3 separate regions of the Homo sapiens genome follow, and regions 2 and 3 are each linked to region 1. The links are contacts of gene promoters, found by promoter capture Hi-C in human tissues and cell types (Jung and others, 2019). All regions are on one chromosome and are shown on one strand. Each heading gives the region's core, a stretch centred on a gene start or on the middle of the fragment in contact. The rest is flanking DNA. Distances are from core to core; before and after follow the strand shown.

What was found. Contacts are between HindIII fragments. The study calls those that stand out against the background at their distance.
Region 2: a contact is called between a fragment that was not itself captured here and the fragment with the promoter of APCDD1 in region 1, in 2 of the 25 tissues and cell types used here (lymphoblastoid cells and mesenchymal stem cells).
Region 3: a contact is called between a fragment that was not itself captured here and the fragment with the promoter of APCDD1 in region 1, in 6 of the 25 tissues and cell types used here (IMR-90 fibroblasts, adrenal gland, dorsolateral prefrontal cortex and 3 more).

What each region holds. Positions count from the first base shown.
Region 1 is chr18:10,452,910-10,456,349 of GRCh38, forward strand. APCDD1 (APC down-regulated 1) reads left to right here and starts at 1,726. Exons shown (of 5, transcript NM_153000.5): 1 at 1,726-2,130. The coding sequence starts at 2,073. The HindIII fragment of the contact is 8,431 bases long and covers 1-3,440 here.
Region 2 is chr18:10,369,678-10,373,117 of GRCh38, forward strand. It overlaps LOC105371986 (a long non-coding RNA gene), which reads right to left. Exons shown (of 3, transcript XR_001753347.1): 1 at 2,550-3,440; 2 at 1,669-1,777. Among named protein-coding and RNA genes, the nearest start is that of LINC01254, 43 kb to the right of the region's middle. The HindIII fragment of the contact is 3,061 bases long and covers 12-3,072 here.
Region 3 is chr18:10,517,418-10,520,857 of GRCh38, forward strand. No RefSeq gene overlaps it. Among named protein-coding and RNA genes, the nearest start is that of NAPG, 6.9 kb to the right of the region's middle. The HindIII fragment of the contact is 4,990 bases long and covers 1-3,440 here.

The sequences.
Region 1 (3,440 bases), core at 476-2,975:
AGCCTAGCAACTGGGATGAGAGAACGATCAGGTACAAAGTCAGGCTCAGAAAGATGTGGCAGAGCAAGACTAACACAAAATAATGCCTGCGCTCATAGGCATCGTTTTCATGATCTTCTTTTTGCCCACACAGGTATTCTTTCATCTTCAAGATTTGCAAACAGGAGCACATTAATCTTCACAACATCCGTGTGAGCTGAGCAGCTGGTACATCTTATGATCCTCTGTATTAATGATGGAAAGATGATAATGATGGTGATAAAAATTAAGACACATCAAACAGCGTCAGCACTATCACATCAAAACACCCATGGATTTCTCAGGTTAAAAAAAAAAAAAGAAAAGTGGAAACTGTCAAATGTATTCTCATCTATTTTACTATTATACCGTTGCTAAGATCCAACTACTTTTGAAAGTCTAACACATAAGGAGTTGAATTATTGCATTGTTCAAAGGGGCAGAGAATTCTCTTGGGAAATCAGGCATTTATTTTAATCTTTTTTTTAAATGAAAAACACTAACGGTTGCGTCAAGAAATGTTCTCTAGACTCCACTGGGTCTCCTGTCTGCTCTTTATCCTAGTGTGGAGAAGAGGTGACATTAACCTTAGGAGGGGGAAAACTGCTGGAAGAGGGGAAGGGCTCAAGCAGGCCCTTGGCAGAGGAGGGACCTTCCAGGTAAATCAGATGGCCACTGCCTTGTACCCGCATTGGAGAACGAAGGACCCCAGGGGAAACTCTTCCTGCCTTTGGGTCTCAAACGCCCATGTAGTCCCCCCTCCCCCACAAGACCGCGAACACAAATAAAATCAGCTTTGATTGTGGTGATTCAATTTGCTCTGGAAGAGAAGAGGACTCGGCGAAGGGGCCTAAGTGCACGTTCTTAGACTGACAGGGAGCGTTTCTCGGAGATTTCTCCCGTTTCAACAAGTCATTTGCCTAGTGGAAGGGGGAGGAAAAAGTGAACGGGCTCCTGCCTCCTACACCGTGCCCTTCCCAGGTTGGGGCCTATGACAAGGTTCTCCGTGCTCCCCAGAGGAGCCAGGCACTGGGCCGGGGTAGGCGATTTGTAGTGAAGACCTGCACCGCACCCACGAGGGGGCCCAGCACTGACGCATCCTCACCCCCAGCAACCCTCCAGGACTCTCTCTTTGGTCTCCCCTCTCTCCCATGGCTGCGCGCTGGCACACACCCCGGCTCAGCAGGCCGCTTTGCTTGGATCCCACGCCAGGCCTCCAGCCTCGCCGCCCGCACCCCCTTTGAACACCTTTCCCCAGGGGAGTGGGCGGAGGCGGAAGGGTGACCCGCGCATTCTCTTTCCTTGCGGGCGGGGTGCGGGGCCAAAGGCTCCCACCCCCTCCAAGGAGGAAGCGCGCCCGGAATGGGGGACGGGGAGGAGAGAAAGGGGTGCGCAGAGCCAGAGGGAGGCAGAGGGGCCTGGAGGGAGGAGAGGAGGAGGGGAGGATGGAAGGGGTAGGAAGCTGGAAGAGGAGGGGTAGGCGAGAGAGGGGAAGGAGGGAAGCGGGAGGGGAGCGGGGGGAGGAGGGGCGCCCGGAGTGGGAGGAGGGGAGGCGTTGCCCGACGCGCCCTTTCAAGTCTCCGCGCTCCCCCCCGGCGGCGGCTGCCCGGGGGCGGTGGCTCGGCGTCGCCTCCCCCGACCGCCCCCTCCAGGGCCCCTCCTCCGTGCCGCGGCCAGGCTGCCCGGCCGGCGGCGCGCTGGAAATATGAAGAGACGCTGCAGCTGCGGTGGCGGTGGCGGCCACTGCAGCTCAGAGCGGCGCACGCGGCGGCCGGGGCGGGACGCGGGGCCGGGCGCGGAGAAGTCGGGGCGGGCGGCAGAGAGGCCGGGACGCGGACCGGGCCGGGGCGCCCACAGCCGCCCGACGGCGCCCAGAGAGCGCGCGCCCCGCAGCCCCGCGCCTAGCCCGCCGGGCATGGGGCGCGCGGCAGCCGCCTGAAGCCCCGGCCTGGCCCGGCCGCACCCGGCCGGAGGCGGAGGGCAGAGCGCGCGCCCAGTTGCCCGGGCACCAAATCGGAGCGCGGCGTGCGGGAGGCCCCAGAGCAGGACTGGAAATGTCCTGGCCGCGCCGCCTCCTGCTCAGATACCTGTTCCCGGCCCTCCTGCTTCACGGTGAGTTCCCGAGGGCCACTCGAGCGCTCCCAGCCGGCGGAGGCAGCCCGGGCGCCGCGGAGCCCGCGGAGGCGTCGGGTCTGGATCGCGGCACGGCCTACACTGTCCCCTTGGCGGGGCGGGTCCGAGGGGAGCCCCGCGCCTGCCGTCTCAGCCCTGGGAGAGGGGGCTCTGCCCACTTTCCGAGGCTTGGGACCGCTCTCCCCCAGGGCGCCCGGAGCTCTTTGCTGCGGGACTGTTCTTTTTGGAAGGGTGGAAGCTCTCCCACGCAGACACCTTTTATGTCCAGAATCCGTTGCATCCAGTCCGAGGGAAACTTTCGTCCGCTCTGCTGGATTTTCCAACTGTACACTGCCATGAAATCGCCGGCTCTGCGAGCCTTTTTCCAAAATGCCAGAATGCAGCAGGCTCTTGATGTGTTCCAAGCGTTTAGGAGAGTGGAAAGAGAAACTGATCATTTGGGAAAGACACGTCTGTCTGCCTTCTGAAAACTAGTGTTTGTTGTCTGCCTGCACTTTGCCTCGCGATTGAGGCGGGGTTGTGGGGTTTTCTCCCAAGTGGACTGTTGCGTTCTCTGGGTGTAATTTTAAGAAACAGGGGACCCCTATTAGCCAAGATTTAATCATTATTACCAGTCTCCCAATGTGCACCCCAACTTGACGTCCCATTTCCTGGGCTTCCAGTGCCACTTTTCCCCAGGGGTTCTAGTAAACCTTTAGCTAGAGAACATCAGCCCTTTCAGCGGGTTCCAGAAATTGCGCTGAAAACACCAAGACAGAATTTCTTTGGGGTGGACAAGGCAGGTTTTATGGCGCGTCGGGTTCATAATCCTGACAAGCCGTGGCAGATCACGTCGTGTTGATGTGGATGTCCTGAGCAAACTGTCCCTAATGGTCAGACACCTGACGTTTCAACAGCATGACTTCACGGCTCTCCTTCCTCAACACCCACCACAGCCACCCCAAACCTGTAGCGGGCTCCGGCTTCAGAATGCATGGTAGCCAGGACTGAAAGTCAGGCTGAGGACCTTCCCTCCGGAGGATCAAGGAAAGGGAAGAATTGTTAACCCACAAGCCACCGGGATGCTGTTTTCTTTGTAGTCCTGCCCCAGGTGGATGGCTCGCATAGCTCCACAGGCTTTGTGAACTTGTCTGGCTGGGCCAGACCTGTCCAGTTGCCAAGGTGTACTCAGAGCCCCAGTGATCCCAGAATTTTAACAGTCGGGATGGAAGGCTTGCAGAGGGCAAAAAGAGAGAAGGTATAATTATAGGGTTGGACTCCTAGGCCCATCTGCTTAGAATTACAGAGCA
Region 2 (3,440 bases), core at 292-2,791, 83 kb before region 1:
AAAAGTGGCCTGGCTTCCAGGTCTGACACCCCTTTCGATCCGAGTGAGCACTGGGGAGACTGCTGGCTCATGCCACAAACCTCCACTCCTAACCCACAGAGGAGTCTGTTAGCACCCACACCCCACATGATCCCCAGAGAGGGAAAAAGATTCTGTGCCCATAGCTCTTGAGACCCCAGAGGCTGGGATGGGAGCTGAACCCTGTGGGAAGGGAGGGTGCAGACTGCCCCCTCCAACAGCCCTGGGAGCCCCTAAAGTTTGCATCCTGCCGTAAAGTCCTTACAACTCCAGTCAAAAACACAACTGCCTCAGAAAATGTTTGCATTAATACTGAAGAGAAAACCCACTTTCAGTTTTTTCTCAAACTTTTAAAATCTCAAAGCTTCCAACTTTTCTGAGCATGATTCTAACAAGCTTTACTCAGTTTACATCAAAGTGGGTGGTAAAGTCCAGAGAGCGCTGTGTGAGTTGCTATTATTTATCATGTTCACTTTTGTTTTTAAATTACTGAAAGTCACTGACTTTGAGTCTAAAAAACTCTAAATATTCATTTAGAAATATTGCTCAGTTTAAATTTCTTAATATCTAAAGTCACCTAATATACTATTTAAAAATATGATTAATGCCAAAGTTAGTCTTTATGATTAAAATATTTAACATTTCTTAACATTTTTCTAGAGATCAAATCATTTCAATTGTTCCATATGTGCTGAAAAATGTGAAATAAAGCCCAGGTTTAATATATGTCCATGAGGCCAAACTTCTGCACTGTGTTTTTCAAAATTTTAAATTGTCAATACATTTTATCTGCTTTATCTAACAATAAAAATAAATAAGTAAATAGGAAGTCAAAAGGCAAGTTTTAATTTAAAAAAAGGCATTCTATTAGAAAATTCAAAAGTTTGACTTATGCCATTCAAGGATAAAAATGATTAGAGGTACGTGAAAGGGGACCGAAAAAAAAAAGAATAAAAATGATATCCCTGTACAAATCACATGATGTATTTGAGGGCTGATCTAATAGAATTAGTCAGGAGAAGACAGAGATAAAAAGAAACTGTGTCTCTTCTAACAAATGAAAGTAGACTAATGGATAAAATAAGGCAGATGATCAGTTGAACCTTGGAGTTCTCTGGTTCAGTCTTTGGGGAGTGAAGTCATCTGTGCCTGAGGCGTGTGCCCATCCCATGTTGGGAAAGCTCTAGAGGCCAGAGACCAAGCTCTGAACAACCTTTCTGGCTTTTAGACTCTGGGCTCTCGAATTCCAAGAGTGACAGTGACACGACTGATTTTTGAAACCAACGTTTCCAGAGCTACAGTAAAAGCAGTTTAAGAAATGTCGCGAGATTTTAATCTGGTTACACATTTGTCGTCAGTTATGACTTAAGGACCCATTTGTGGATTTCAGATCCTGGCAGCCTGTGGGCATGTGTCTGCAAATGCACGTGAGCTGAGCATAGAGGCACACTCCCAGGGCAGGTCACAGGCAAATAATTGTTCTTTAAACTAGCTTCGAATAGATAGCTTTTCTTTCTTTTTGGAACAATGTAAGGTGAAGTTATTTGAGAAGTGGTTTAGGCTTCCGTAAAGATTATAGTAACCAATGAAGAATTCACAATAGGAATATCTATCAGAACACACTACTTAACTCCAGCTGCTAAGACCCACCTATCTGCAGTGCTTGAAATGTTAATGAACAGCCCTTAATTGACCGCTGTGCCTGGAGTTCCACACCTAGCTCATTCCATTTATTCTGCAGAGGCCATTTTGAGCTGTGCTTTAAAGACAGAAAAAGTATAGATTTTAATTTTTTACCTATTTAAATGCCTCATCATGGCATGTAAACATTTAGGGGACTTGTACATTGCACATGTCACACTCATCACTGATAGCAATTGAGCAGGAGCTGCCTCCCCTGCCCCAGCAGGGTCCCGAGCCCTTGACACAAGGCCCCAAGGAAGGACTCAGCACACCAGCTGTAATTTGTAGAAACAAATGAAATCACTCCTTATTATTTCCTACCTCCCCACCCCAAATACCAGGCCGTGTCAGGCATCGCCACTTAATCCAGCAGGAGAGACTGTGGGATTGCTGGCTGCAGGGCCCTAGCAGTGGCCCAAACAGTTAAAGAGGAGATGGAGTTCACTGCTCTTCTTCTGAACAGAAAGTCAGGGCTTCAAGATTTCAACAAACATTAGCATTACTCATTTAGAGCTGAGCCTAATTCCTAAACGTGATCGGCACTAGCTTGACATGCGTCACACCAATTTTAACCACACTTCAATTTGGAGGGAAGTAAAAAACAAATAACATCTTAATAATATTGAACTGAAACATAACTTGGCTAGAAAACGAAGATGTTACTAGAGATTTTATACATATATACATATTTCTATGAAACAGAGATATGTAGAATTTCAATGTTAAACTTCTTTAAAAGATGAGCCTTACGAATGGCCACCGCCCATCCAGCCTCACAGAATCTTTGTGAATAACACTTGGAGGCAATTAATTCTCAACTGGAAGTACTGTCATCAAGTTTTAATTACCTTCTGGATAGCAAATCTCAGCAGACACTTTTCGGTCCTTTTTAACACCTTCTGCAATATTTGACACTCCTAGACACCTCCAATTTGACATTCCAGCCTCCCTTGACTTTGGTGGAACGTTGCTTTTCTGGGCTCACAGATCCCAGCCCACTTTGCGGTCTTCTGTTCCTGGGTCCATGTCATAAAATGTTGGGATTCATTATGACTTCATCTGTGGCCTTATTTTCTCACAGCATCCAATCTTTCTGTGTGATTTGGTTCAACCCCCTGGCTTCTGCTGCCACCTGAGAGCTAATAACTCTCTTCTGGGCATGACAGACCCTCCCCTAACGCTCACTGGGTCCCCTTCTTGGGTGTCTCCAAAACACTTCGAGTCAAGCATGTCAAAACGGAACACGTCCTCCTGCTCCATAAACTGGCTTTCCATGCATTTTCCCTCTTATGGATAACCTCACCGCCTTCCCCCATTTACCTAATGCAGAAGCCTCAGAGGTTTCTCTCTTCTTTCCCCTCAACATCTAACCAAGCTGCAGGTCCCATCAATTGCTTTTCCCTAAGTAGCCATCAAATCTACTCTTCCATCTCCAGCCGACTTCTCTTGGTTTAAACTGTCATCTCTCCTGTGCTGGGTTATTTAAGTAGCTTCCTAACAGATCTTTCTGATGTTTTCATTCCCGTAAACCCATCATTTACACACTGCCTCAGTAATCCTTCCAAGTGCAAACAAGTCCATATTAATCCAACCCATCACGGCCTTCAATAACCGCTCCATGACATTTAAGACATTTTCTGAGGGAAAGTTCTGTCATTATCTGGCCTCGTCCCAGCCGTCCAATCTTGATACCTTGATAAGCATGTTGAAAATGCCCCATCAGGTCCGCTCAGCAGGGC
Region 3 (3,440 bases), core at 245-2,744, 64 kb after region 1:
TTGTATCTCCTGATGATGTGGATGGAAAATTTGGACAGGGCACAGTCAGAGGAGCTCCACTCAGCTTCACGGTTGGAAGCTTTGCTGGGACGGCTCTAATGGCTGCAGCTGGGAGATGCGGGGCAGCTGGCCATTGCTTCTCTGCTCATAGACCTCTACCGGGGTGGCTTGAGCTTCCTCACATCATGGCAGCCTCAAGGGAGTTGCACTGTTCAGGGTTCCAAGAGCTATTTCATGTTTTGAGAGATGGGAAGTGGGAGCTGCCTGTGCCTTGAAGATTGGGCCCTGAGACTGGCACAGTATCACATCCTTGTTCTTTTGGTCAAAGCAGTCACAAAACCCACCTGCATTCAAGAGGATGGGACAGAGTCCCCCTCTCAATGGAAGAGGGTCAGAGATTTGGCTGCCATTTTTAATCCACCACATTATTATTCTTCCCATTTTATAGGAGAAGAAACTGAAGCTCAAAGAAACCAGATAATATATGTCTTTAAATAACATAAGAAATACTGCTGAGGTTTGAAAGTATGACTGACTCTAATCCATTTTTCTTTCTAGTATACAGCCCCGCTCTCTTAAAATGTGGACATTTGATCTTCTAAGATAAGACTTTTTGAGCCACAAGCTACTCTTCTGATTGGATGTAGAACAAAACATAGCAAGTCATCGTCCACGTTCTTTCTAAACTTTGCATCGTTGAATGAAGAGGCCCTATCTAATAAGCTGTAGAACTGAACACTCCTCTTCAGTTTGAGAGGCTGTTCAAGGTAAAAGAGAGGGAAAAATGGAAGTGAATAAAATCACAAATTTAAACGATAAATACCTGGCTTGGGGAAGCTTTTTTCCCCAGAGGATAGAAATATATTTACATTATGAAATAAGTTGGAATCCAATGGAAACCCCTTGTTATTATTAGATTTCCTCTTGAGAAGGATTTATAAATGAAAACACAACTTGCTATTTTAGTATTTTGTTTTTCAGGGAAGAAAAACCCTTTGCAAAAACAAATTTAGAAGAAAAAACTTATCCATTTCAAGCTCTTGTTTATTTTCTTATTTACCAGGCTAAAACTGTCTTCTTTCATCTCTGATTATGTTGGGAGCTGGAGAAAAGAGGGTTTTTATTTTGTTTTGTTTGCTTTTTTCCTTTTCTCTAAATCTGGAAGGTCTCTTTTCATTTGTGGGCAGTGCTAAACCTTTCCTTATCCACAACTGCGTTTCTGAATCCACAGCCTCCTCCAGCCGTAACTGTGACCCAAGGGCTCCACGCAGTGGGGGATAGGAAATGAAGGATGAGGGCAGTCACATGTGAAACGGCTGCAGTGTTCATCTGTGATCTGGTGGCCCCACTGAACAACAGTGGCCATGACCCCGCTGTGCACCTGCTAGCACACAGCTCCATGCTCCTTTGCCATGTGTCCCTCCATTAGGCTGTGATTCCTCCTCCTCAGCTCCACAGGAATCTGGAAAATAAGGGTCCTGTGGCTGCTTTTGCAATCCTAGTACACTTTGAGAACGTCATGTTCCAGTAAGCTTTATATAACGTTCTAGACCATTAGAGCCTTTTCAGCTTCCTTATTAACATTTATTCATTTCTAATTACACGAGTAGAGGGAAGTTGCAAGAAATGTGTCCCTGAAGATTTTCAAACTTAATGCAACCATTGCATAATTTTAATCCAATCTTCACAAAGGGAGTCATGTGTTGCTTTTCTAGCCAAGTCACCCTTGGCCCCTGCAACCTCGTCACCTCCCCATTCTCCCCTGGAATGTGGGGCCAGGCGCCCGCATACTCTGCCTCACAAATTTGCTATTCCTTCTTTATCGGCAACTATCTTTGTCCAGATATCCCAGGTCTCAGGCCACCACTCCTTCAGAGCTTTATTTCATTGTCACCTACCTGGTGAAGAAACTCACCCCACACTCACGGGTGCCCTCCCATTCCCACATCCTGCTTTGTTTTCCTGAGTGTTGACCCCCTCTAGCACTGTGTCTACACCGCCTTAGCCAGTTTCCTACTGGACTCCACAACCCCACCCATATGCCCTGTGCTAGAATGTCAGCTCTGTGAATCCCTGCTGCATTCAGGGCTGTCTCCCAGAGCCTAGAACAGTGCCTGCATGGAGAAACCATTCCACACATACTTGTTGAATGAGTGCCTAAAGAATGAATAGCATAAACCCAGTCCACAGCTCTTTATTCCTGGCAGCTTCCAAACGTGCACTTCTTGAGGAATTCTTAATTTGGAAGACATGTTATTTAAAAAAATTCATTAATGCAGTTTGTGAATGAGTAATTCACAAACTTCATTAATGAGTCATGTTTTATGTTGTATTCTTTCAATTTTGCCTACTTTATATTTGTACAAAATGTAACTGCGTGAATATATCCTCCTTGAAAGAAAATGATTGCTGTATATCTATGGGATGTGGTTTTCAAGAGAGAACATTTATAGGTTGGCACTAGGCTATCTGCAAGTGGTCTAATGAAATACATGACGGGTTTCCACTAAGCCAATTCAGTGTGTTGGTTTTATCTTTTATTCAAAGATAGCTTGCAAAGGAAGATCTGTATTTTTCTCTCTCTTTAAAAATAATATTCATCAAAACGGTTGTGTTCGTTAGAGTGGATTTAACAGAGATCTGTTGTTAAACATTTACAATGCTTCATCTCTTTCCAACATTACTGTACTCGGACAATGCTGCCTCACTTTGTGTACAAAACAGTGAGAGAGATCGCTTTTATGTGGAAAGTTCAGTTATGAATGCGAAATGTTGCCAGAATCTGACTGTAATCCCAAGAGGCAGAAACTAACCACTTTTGTTTGGACGGCTTGCAGCTTGTAAAGGCACGTGCAGGCAGCGCCACCATGTGTTTTCTGAAGAGACCCATAAGGCTACGCGGGAGAAGGAATGAACGCCAGGACTCTCCCCAGCCAACGTATACCTAAGTGGGACTTCTCAGTATAATATGCTTGGCGCATCTGTTAGGGGTGGCCCTTTCTCAGCCATTTGACAACTTACTTCAGTCAAACCTAATAAACTTCCAACTCTCATTTTCCAATTATTATTAAAATTTCAAAGCAGGTAGGTGTAAAGTACCAGGTATGTAGTAAACTGACTATTTTTTCCCCCATAAAAACATTTGAAAATTAATAATTGGTCCATACAACTAAGCAGCGGTGTTGCGTGAGTGGTTATTAAACTATTACAAAATAAGGACCATTTTCTGGTCCATTATAGTGGGCCAAGTATAAATTTGGAGTCAGATGGGTCTGGGTTCAAGTCCCCATCTTCCCGTTTACTTGCTGTGTGACCTTAGGAAAGTTACTTAGCTTCTCTGACCTTCAGTCCTCATATGTGAGATGGGATAACAACAGTGTTTCTAAAGCACTTTGTAGAGTTTCTGGCAAATGGTGACCAGGGGCCCTAGGGTTTAGTGG